Regions from separate parts of the Homo sapiens genome. Here region 1 is linked to region 2. Evidence: promoter capture Hi-C in human tissues and cell types (Jung and others, 2019). All regions are on one chromosome and are shown on one strand. The core of a region is centred on a gene start or on the middle of the fragment in contact, and the rest is flanking DNA. Distances in the headings are between cores, read along the strand shown.

Region 1 (5,504 bases), core at 655-3,154, 110 kb after region 2:
ATCCTACTTTGCAGATGAATGAAAAATATTACTGAATCAGAGAAACTAAGGTTCAGAGACATAAAGTCACTTGCTGACGTTTATTTAATGGCAAAGCCAGACCCCATGTCTCCAAATCCTGTGGGCTTTTCCCTCACGTTGCCTCTCCACACCCCAGTGGCCTTGATGATGCTCAAGTTACACCATCCCTTCGATCTCCTTTCTCCAGGTGAGTTGTGGGGTAAGATTTACTCTAGCCCCAGAATTGAAGGGGACTTCCAACCCACTATTCTTTATCCCACCTCTCTATAATTCCTCCAAAACCCTCTCAGCCTGCCAAGAGGTGGGCAAGTGTGTGCTGAAGACTGCTGAGTAGAGCCAAGTTCCTTAATTACTATCCCTCAGCCTCTCGCCCTCTTGTCTGCCCCCAGCCTCAGGAGTATCAGGCAGCTGGCAGCCTTCTCAAGGCCTAGGATGGCCAGGGCCCTGGAGATAATGTTCTTGGGCTGAAGGCTAATGAGTTGTCACCTGATCTACCAGAAGAGTTTGAGAAACTAGGGAGGGTATGATGAGACCTATTCCTTGGAGTCCCAGGGCCAAGACAGGGTTCTCCACCTGAGAGAAGGGCGGGGGAGGCTGACCAGATCCCAGCTGAAGGGCCCTTCTCTGTACACTTTCCTGTCTTTGAACTTGAAGTGGTGTTGGCTGGAAATGAGGGGAGGCTTGGACCTAGGGGGTGGAGGGCCCAAGAGGTAGTGGCGGGTAGGGGAGGCAGAAGAGCTACTCCCCATTGTGAGAGCACCCCCAGGGCCAACTCCTGTAGAGGCTGTTTCATCAGCTCTGTGCCTTCCAGGAAGGACCATCCCCATCTTCCCAAACAGAGAACCTTTTCTGGACTGCTTCTTAATCTGTATTTTGTTCATCTTTGTGTCCTTCTCAGTGCCTGGCATTTCTTGACTTTAAAGAGCCTGTAGGATTGATGTTCTACATCACTTTTCCTCCTTCAGGCCCCCTTTTCCATGTGCCACCCACTTCATCCTTCGGAAGTCCTTCCTCTGAGCTTCCCATTGAAGTTTCAACGTTTGGACACTTGGGGGCACTGAGTCAGTTTCCCTAGCTCTTCTCTGCAGGCTGTGCTCAGCCCCACCCTGTCAACACTCTCCCTACTCTCTACAATGAGAGGGGCAGATGGGGAAACTGAGGCCCACTGTGGGAGTGCTTAGTAGGAGTGCCTCAGTGATAAAATCCAGGGTCTTCTGTGGAAGGCACATCTCTCTCTAGTGGTGAGAAAGGACAGAGGCAGAAAACTTCAGGCCTAAGCCAAAACTTGTCCAGAGGCAGACAACTCTGAACTTAAAGCTTCTTCCTGCACTGGCCAGGTCGTCCTAGGGGAGCCCAATGCTTCCTTGTGCTCGTGTGACCAAGGACAAGAGAAATTAGTCTTGGGAGAAAGGATGAATGAAAAGTAGGAAGAAGAGGAGAGGAAGTGGAGGGACCCTATCTCTGAAGTCCCTAGAATTACTGGTGGAACAGAGTCCTTTATGACCTGGTCTCTGCTGACCTCCCTAGCATCAGTGTTCTCTATCTGTACCCACCCACTTCACGCATGCATCATGTCCCCAGCCACACAAAACCTCTCGGTTCTTGAACAGACCAAGCTTTTCTTAGCAAATAATGGGGTCTCTTCCATGGAACACTCTTCCTTTCCCACTTTGCTTAATTTCTACTCCTCCTTCAGGCTTCAGCTTAGATGTCACTTTCTCTGGAAAGCCTTTCTGGATGCCCCCACCCACAACATGGGCTGCTATCCCCCTGTGTTCCCACAGTACCATGAACTTCCTACCTCAGGCTTTACGGTGCGCCAGGCATTGTGCTGGACGCTCCATGCCGTGCTTCATCCTAGCCTCCCTAGGGGGGCAATAGCATTGCCCTCAGATGAACGGGTGGAAACTAGACTTACATGGGTTAACTAACTTGCCCAGGAGGACTGCTCGTAAGGGGTGCACTGCAAGTTGAACCCAGGCCTGCTTAAATCTGCTTAAAGTCTGGGCTTCTCAACTTGCTACTGGACTGTGTCACAGAGTATTCATGCTGGGAAGTCCTCTATGGTCATCACGTTTAATACCCACATTTTACTAAAGAGGAAGCCAAGGCCTAGAAGAGGGGGGTAACTTTCCCAAGATCACACTGCTAGCTGGTAGCTCATGTTATTTTACATCAGAATCAGAGCAACAACCCTGGTCTTCTTCTTCATCTCAACTTATCTCTTCCTACAAGATCCTTTTCCTCACCCTGGGGTCCAAAAGTGCCAGTTTCTGTGGAGCCAACCTTGGAGCATTATCCACAGAAACTCTTCCCCAGCCAACCACAGCCACAGCCACAGCCCATTATCTTCAATCTGGGCCTCCCACCTAGTAGGTCTCAGGGTCTCCCTCACCCCTGCAGAAGCTGGCCCAACAAGAAGAGTTAGAATAAGCAGCAAATAGTGAGGTCCACGAGGAGGAGACATTCAGCAATGCTCTTACTGGGGTCTGTGGAAATGATCAAGGGATTCCTTTGAGGCCGCTGGAAACCCCACAGGGGCTCTGAGAGTCATTGGAACTATCTTCCAGGCCACTCAAGCTTTGTTCAGTAGGTGACTAAAGGGGGACTTTTCCTTCTCATCAAGGCAATGAGTTCTCCACCTCTTTCTGTCCCTCCCCTTATGCCCAGGGAATTCTTCCAGTTAAGTCAAAATTTACCTGTTGCTATCTGAGCAATTTCTTCCTATTTGTACCCTTAATGGAGCTGGAGACACAGAGGTACTCTGTACCTGTCATTCATATTCAGAAAATTGAGCCTGTTTCCCTGACAGGTGTCCTCTCAGCTCCCTTTCCTTCTTGGGGCTCCTGTTCCCTGCATGAAGAGCAGCCTCTGACCCTCACTCAGAGGAGTCTAGGGAGCTCACCATGACTCTGGGAGGCAATCTCTCTGCCCCCTCTCAACTTTTTACTTATTCCTTATCCACATTCCTCCCTTAAGAAGGAGGATGGGGTAGGGATGGCATGAGGACACTTACTAGATACAGAACTAGATTCAGAGGTGAGTGTCTCACTGTCCTCTGTCTCCTATAGTAACTAACTGCCCGAGCACAGCAGGGAAAGCTGAAGTTACATACATTGAGCAGTTCTCTTTCTCCAGTAGGGAACATTTGGAGCAAAAGAATCACACCAGAGTATAAGGGCTGGGGGAGGTGTGTTCCTGCATGAAGGAAGACAGATGGATGAGGCGGCTTAAGGAGAATCCAGTAGCCAGAGGGGAAGCATTTTAGATGAGGGGAAAGGAGAAGGAGTAGAAGGGCCCTGAGGTTCTCCCATGCAATTTTGATGGGAGGAAACATCATGGAGATTAGCACTCAATAATATTTGCTGATGAGCAAACCAATATCAGCTTAGTTCTCTATCTAACAGAGTTTCTGCAACTGTGACCCCATCCACCCTCCCAGGCCCCAGCACACCACTGTGCAGTCAGCCCTCAAGTCTCTGGGATCCCAATGGGCCTTCCTCTCTTCCCTTTTTAGGGCATCTGCTCCCAACTGCTAGAAGATGCTCTGGACCAGAATAGCAGGTGAGCCGTAGATACAGCCTACAGATCCTCGTGCAGACGTAGGATAATAACTGGAAAGGCCAGTACTAGGCAGCATGAAGGACTTATAATTGATAGAGATCCCCAACTCCAAACCCTAGCTAAGAAGGCTGTGGGGTTACTTTCCAGTGATCCAGAGTTCGTAGCAGGAGTGGGGCCGGTAGGAGGGTGGGAAGTGAAAGGAGGTAGGCTCACTCTGCCTAGGGGTAGTGCAAGGGTCAAAGTGACCTTCGGAGGTTCTTTCTAGACCCAGAAGCCCACTTAAGGCTCCTAGACCCGTTCTTCTCCCCACCCCTTCCCCTCACCATGCCCCCACTCCTTCCCAAAAAAAGGTGGCTAAAAGACAGCTCTGTTGGAATTGTAGATAGGGTTGGGGGTGGGGTCATCTGAGTGAAACCAAGAGACAAATAGTTGGGGGAAAAACACAAAAAAACTAGCGGTGAGAGACCTCCATTCTAGTCCCAGACTTGCCACCAGCTGCCTGGACACCATCATCTTACCTCTCAGAGCCTTGCTGGGAAAATGATAACTGTTCCATCTACCTCCCAGGGCCAGGAAGGGCTAGGAAATATCTATGTGCCCTGGGCAAATGCAAAGACGGACACACTGGACCTGTGCCAGCGAGGCCAGGTGGGGCTTTAGTTATTCACATAGAGCTCAGTCCAGGGTACTTGACTCAGCTCTGGGGTGGGGGGCCTGGCCCACCTAACTGCTTCCATGGTTGAGGCAGGAATGGGAGCATTGCTTAGAGTGCAGCAAGAGGCTGTGTCCATGGTTAACGTATAAGCAGGTGCAGTCTGGGGCAGCGGGACATTCTTAGCCCCAGGGCCACATTCTTAAGGTCACAACAAGTGCAAACTTGTTATAACCAGTGTCAGAGCAGCAGAGGGCAGCAAGGGCATGGGGGGGAGGGACATGGTGCTGAGATGCCTGCGGCCGTGGAGGGGGTGCAAAAGGGAAAGGGGGGTGGGGTGGAGGGAGGGTGGGTGTGCAGGTGCATATGCCAGGAGGTGGTGTTGTGGACGTGCGATCTGTGTGCTGGGGTCAGTGTGTTGTGTCTGGGCACATCCGTTTGGGTGTGTGTTGGGAGCCGTGTGTGGGGCCGCATAGATGAGTGTATGCCTGTGTGTCTCTGCATATATGAGCCCCGGGGAGTCCTGTAGTGGGAGGAGGAGAGGTGGCAGCCACAGGTCCAGGCTGGGCATACGGAACCGAGAAGTGGGCAGGCTCTGAGTGCCCCTTCCCCTTCTCAGGCCTCAGAGAACCTGCATTCCAACTCCTCCACAGACTGCCCCTGCCCCTGTGAGCCTAGGGCCTCTCCCCTCTGTGTGCCCTCTGCAGCCTGCCCTGTCAAATGCCCATCTCCCCAGCCTGCCCAGAGAGTGGGGGAGTCACCTCCTGCCCATCCCCCCTGGCCCAGGGCCCACTCCCCCGTGCTCTCTGGGCCCTCCGGACACTGGGGCGAAGGGGGGGTGGTGGGGAAGGCTCTGAAAGCAGGTGACTGTTTGGGGGAACTAGGGGACAGAGCCCCCATTGTGCCTGCCCCGGAGCCGCCTCAATGGAGCTCCCTGGCACAAAGGGGCTTTGACAATGGGCAGGACATTAGTATGCAGAGCCAGCCCCTCAGCCCTCTCCCTGTCCCACAGCCGAGGGGCGGGAGCTGGGGGACTGCTGGTAGAGGGTGAGGGGGGCCCAGGACTGAGACTAAGGAGATCTTGGCCCACAGGGGCTCCCCTGGGGGCACTGCCCAGGAGACAGGGGAGGAGACTAGACTAGGGCCTCCAAACCTGCCACTCGCCAGAAAGGACTTTCCAAATGGAAAAAGCCACGGGGACTGGTAGGAGTGGAGCGGGAGGGGCTGCGGGATGCCAAGCCCCTTGGTCCCAGGCTGGGCTCTAGAA
Region 2 (5,230 bases), core at 762-3,261:
AAGCTGCTCTCCGGAGAACCACCAGATCTAAATGAAAAGTACAAGGCAACATGCAGAGTTGGCCAATACTGGAGCCCAGAAGAAACCCCACCATTAGAGAAAGGCACTGGGAAGAGAAAGGAGGGAGGAGTGTAGTTAAGTGAGGGGTAGGGGGAAGGGGGGGATCTTGAAGCCCTGGGGAGTAAGAGCAGGGGTAGGAGTACTGGGAGAATGGTGAGTGCTGAATGCAGATACTAGAAAGGTGAGGAAATGGGGGAGGCTGGGAGAGTTGGGAAGGTCTTAGGAAATGTGGAAGGATTCTGGGGATGCCTGCATTCTGAGGGTCTTGAAAAACTAAGCCAGAAGAGAACTGGGGTTCCTCATATGCTTGGAAAAATATTTTTGAAGGAAGTATGGTAGATCAAGACTCTCATGGCCTAGGCTGCTCTCGCTTCTTTCCTTACTCTTGATGCTCACAAGGTATAGCAGCAAGATGGAACCAGTGCTGTCGCCTTCACCCCTCTGTGACAAATAAGGGCCCTGAGGATATCTGCTCAGGGGCAGAGAGCCAGTCAAGGGCAAATCCAGGGCGCTTAAGCCTCAGAAAGTGGTCCCCAGGACACCCCGATACAATCCCTTGTCCCATTTCCCCAGCCTCTATGAAAAACTCTGGAAGCTGAGGACCCGAGGCCTTTCTCCATTCAGTCTCCCTACACTGCTTTGGCAGTGAGTGAGTCAGGCACTTGGGAGAGGAGGAGCTGCCTCCCCCACCTGCCAGTATGGGGGATCCAGGCAGCATCCTCCAGGTCTGGACAGGTCCCGGGGCTGGCAGCTGGCGCCACTTCCTCACGATACTGCCAAGCAGCCCTCCCCCTGCCAGGCACCACCACCCAAGGACCTCACCCAAATCCCTCCCACTCACTCCCCTCCAATATCTTCGGGGTGCCAGGGTTTGTCAAGCTCTTTCTTCCCCAACCCCAGAGGCATGGTCCAAAAAAAAGCCTGTGAGTCCCTGAAGTGTACAAAATTAACCCTGGGGCATGGAGGGTAGGAGCTTCTGACAGCCCCACAGATCCTAGGGCAGTCTCAGAGAGCCAGAGGGTCCATGCCAGGGCCTGGCACTGCCAAGTGGACTCTGCTCTGAGTCCTCCAACCCACTCTTGGCCGCAAAGTTCAGGACAGACTATAAAACATCCTCCACAGAGTCTGATCCTTGCCTCTACTTAATGATCCTGTATGTCTAACTTCTGGCAATTCACTAGCAACCAAGCCCCCTGTTTCCCACTGCCTCCAGGCAGCTCTCCCACACTTCCCTGAAAAACCTTTTTCCAAGTATATAGGAACCCCCTAGTTCTCTCCTGGTTGTTTTCCGAGACTCTGAGTAACTAGGCATCCCTAGAATTCCTCCCAGTCTCTTAATATCTTTCCAACTCCCCCGGCCTCCACTATTTCCTCACCCTTCTAGTCTCCCCACACACCACTCCCTCGTCCTCCCATTACTCCCTTCCCAGTTATCGCTACTACGCACAATCCCCCCACAATTCCAGCTTCTCGCACCTGATCTCCAATTGCAGCAGGTCTCCTGCACTATAAAGAACTCCCTTCTGGTCTCCCCACCCCCCAGCCACTTCTCCCCATCCTCTCCTCCCGATAATTCCCCTCCCTGGGATTCTCCTGCATCAGCCCACAATACAATTCTGATACCCCACCCCCAACAATTCCTTTCTCCCTCGCATTCTCTGGTCCCCTGGAACTCCTCCTTTCTCTTAGAACCCACCAAGAACTCCCCCACATTGCCTCCAGAACTCCTGCAGTTCTCCGGGAACTCCCACCCACCCGCCAAGAATTCCACTTCACTCCCCAGAACTCCCCTAGTTCTACTCCTGCAACGAATTCCACTTCTCTCTAGAACTCCCCGCTTTCTCCTGTCCCCCATAACTCCGCACTACCAGCACCACCACTTCTATACCTCCAGTACGCCCCCTCCCTCACCTGCTCCGCACCGCTCGGCTCCACTCTCGCCGCTACACAATAGGGGGCGGACCCGCCTCCCCGCCTCGGATGCCCCGAGCGCCTCCCGTCGCCCTGGAGACCGCCAATCCCCCTCCCGCGGCGGCCAATTGGAGCCGCCAGAGGCACGGCGAGGCGGGCGGGACCCCTGAGCGGCCTGGGAGTTGTAGTTTCAGGAGGGAAGAGCTCGGCTGCACGTGGGCTCAGGTCGCCCCCTCGTGGACCTCTGCACAGCCAAGCGTGGAAAGGCCGGTGGGCCGCTTCCCGCCGCCAGCAAGAGGGGCAGCAGGGTCCGGCTCGCGCTCCAGGGCTGCGGGAGCTGGCCCCTTGCCAGGCTACTGGTACGCCGTCCTTCTTTCGGAACCTACGGGCGACCCTCTCCGCTCCCCGAACGGGCGCGCCACAGAGGCGGCAGCGAGGGTTGAAATCTGAGCCTGGGGGTAGGAGAACCAGGCGGGGAGCATGACTCCCCGCCCTCCTCCCAGGGGATCCACCCAGGTCCCGGGCTCATCCGATCTCCTCCCCCATCCCCATTTCTACCTCCACCCATTGCTTCTCTAGCAGGACTGGAAATACCTGTCTGCATTGGCGAGCTCCCAAATCTTGCCCAGGCGCCTCCCACCGTGTGCAGCTGAGGAAGGCTGTGCTCTGAGCGTGGGGTTGCCAAGTCAGCTCCCAAGGCAGCTCTGGCACCAACGACCCAGAGAAACAGGCCCAGAGGGGAGAAACGACAGATATCCTGACACGGGAGATTGAAAGGGAGGAATGAAATACAAGATCACTTACTGGACCCATGCAGGGTGCCAGACCCTGGACTAGATGCTTTATAACTCTTGTGTAACCTTCACAGAAACCCTGCGAAGTAAGTAGAGCTCCCTTTGACTAATGAGAAAACTGAGGCTCAGGGAGATGAAGTAACTTGGCCCAAGCTTTCCCAACTAGGTTATGGCAGAGCTGGATTGAGACCCAACCCAAACTTCATCAAACCTACTCCCTTGGAGGCTTCGCCCTCAGACACAAAGATATCTTGCATATCTTGCCCCTCAGAGATTCCACCTCCTCAGCCTGGTGATGCTGTAGGGATGCTGGGTCGGCTTAAGCAACATTGCCTGTCCAGGTCCTTCCCATTCAGTTGGCTCCCTTGGAAGCCTTCCATGAAAGCAACGTGCTGATCTCATCCCAATCCGAAGTACTAAGACTCAAACTGAGTGCACCAGGCATCAGACTCACAGAATCACTGCTGCAGCATCATGAGAGAACCTCCAGGATGGGCCTAAGCACTACTTGGCCCCAGAATCCCTGGCACATCATTTCTCCATGTAGTCATCCAAGCCCCTATCTCATTACATCCTGGGCCAGGAAGCTCAGCACTACTGTTGTACCCATTCCATCCTTAGTAAGCTCTGCCTGCTGGACAGTTCTTCCAGGTGTAAAGGTTTTAGTGCTTTTGGGTGACTGAGATGGAAGGGAAGAGGCAGGAGCAGTGGGCCAGTCTCTCCCACCATCCCTCCTGCAAATAGTCCCAAAGTAGCAGCTTTTCAACAATGCATTTCAACATAATACCCTGATCTATTGATAAGACTATAATGGAAACATGTTAATGAATGCAGCATGGAAGCAAGGCTAGAAGAAATGGTAAAAGAGTGAAGCGGGTTTTTTGTTTGTTTGTTTTTTTGTTTTGACAGAGTCTCACTCTATCGCCCAGGCTGGAGTGCAGTGGTGCAATCTCGGCTCACTGCAACCTCCACCTCCCGGGTTCAAGCGATTCTCCTGCTTCAGCCTCCCAAGCAGCTGTGATTACAGGCGGCCACCACCATGCCTGGCTAATTTTTGTATTTTTAGTAGAGATGGGGTTTCACCATCTTGACCAGGCTGGTCTTGAACTCCTGACCTCATGATCCACCCACCTCGGCCTCCCAAAATGCTGGGATTACAGGTGTGAGCCACTGCCCCCGGCCGAGCCAAGTGTTTTTTAGTCTTTGGATCTTTACCAATCATTGGGAAGGATCTCCCTCCCCGCTGTTAGAATTGGCCACACCTTTGATCTAAACTGCTGTCTCCAGTGGTTTCTTGAGGATAAACTAATCTCATTTAGACATTAAAATAACTTTCTGTTAAATGACATTTAAAATGGTTTTCAATTTTTAAAAGTTTATGATATGGCCTTTTTTTTCTGGAAACTTATTTTGTGACTTTTATTGTTATTGCCATTTTTTGTCTGATTTATATGTATATTGGAGATTTTTTGTTAAGAAAAGGAACCTAGCCCTATAACTTGTTCCCTCACTGTGCCAGGAGTGAAAGCTGATTTAAAAAATAGTCCCTGAGGTTCAAAACAAAAGACTTTCCTCTAGGTTGTCCTTGATTCATAGTCATTACTCTCTGGGAAAGCTTATTCAACCAACGAGGATTCCACCTAACCTAAGTATCAGGCAGCCCCCATATTTTCAAATTGCTGACAAGGATATCAGAAAATATTCTCTCTCTCCCCCTCCTCCTCCTCCTCCTCTTCTTCCTCCTTCTTCTCCTTCTCCTGCTTTCTTCTTTCCTCTTTCCTCCTCCTCCTCCTTCTCCTCCTCCTCCTCTGCTGCTGCTTTTCCTCCTCCTCCTCCTCCTCCTCCTCCTCCTTCTCCTTCTTCTTCTTTTCTCTCTCTGTCTCTCTCTCTGTCTCTCAGAGCTGGGGTATTCTCCTCCTCTTGCCTTTGAACATCAAAACTCCAGGCTCTCCAGACTTGGGACTGTGAGTTATACCATTGGCCTCCCTGGTTGTGAGGCTTTTGGAGTTGGACTGAGCCACACTTTTGCCATCCCAGGGCCTTCTTTGTGCATGTTGTAGGACTTGGCCTCCACCATCATGTAAGCCAATTCCCCTAATAAATCCCATCTCATATTTCTATATCTGTATCTATCTATCTTATTGGTTCTGTCTTCCTGGTGTATACCTAATATTTCAGCAGGCCTTGGGAAGAAAGGACCTGAGCTGCTCCATAGCCCTGCACAAAGAAGATGGTGTGACCTCAGAGATGTCTGCTTGGCATCGTTAAGCACAGGTGTTCCTAATCAGCAAAGTTTCTCATTGTCTATAGATAAGCAGAGAATTACTTGATATCAAATGAACCCTGAAAGGTGGAACACATGGGCTTTTAGTAGTGACCACATTTGATGTGTTAACATTGCTTGTACCAATTAAGCACCACATAACTATCCCATATTCTAGAATAGAAAGGGTGGCTTTAATAAT

Evidence for each region. The method cuts DNA at HindIII sites, captures the fragments that hold promoters and counts their contacts. A contact is called where the count stands out against the background at its distance.
Region 1: a fragment that was not itself captured here is called in contact with the fragment with the promoter of IGSF9 in region 2 in 3 of the 25 tissues and cell types used here (hippocampus, mesendoderm cells and neural progenitor cells).

What each region holds. Positions count from the first base shown.
Region 1 is chr1:160,057,191-160,062,694 of GRCh38, forward strand. All of the region lies in intron 1 of KCNJ10 (potassium inwardly rectifying channel subfamily J member 10), which reads right to left. Among named protein-coding and RNA genes, the nearest start is that of KCNJ10, 10 kb to the right of the region's middle. The HindIII fragment of the contact is 4,727 bases long and covers 1-4,268 here.
Region 2 is chr1:159,943,602-159,948,831 of GRCh38, forward strand. It overlaps IGSF9 (immunoglobulin superfamily member 9), which reads right to left and starts at 2,012. Exons shown (of 21, transcript NM_001135050.2): 1 at 1,972-2,012; 2 at 1-27. It overlaps LOC124904438 (a long non-coding RNA gene), which reads left to right. Exons shown (of 3, transcript XR_007066684.1): 2 at 2,551-2,851. RefSeq lists a silencer at 1,998-2,292 and an enhancer at 2,135-2,635. The HindIII fragment of the contact is 11,911 bases long and covers 1-3,649 here.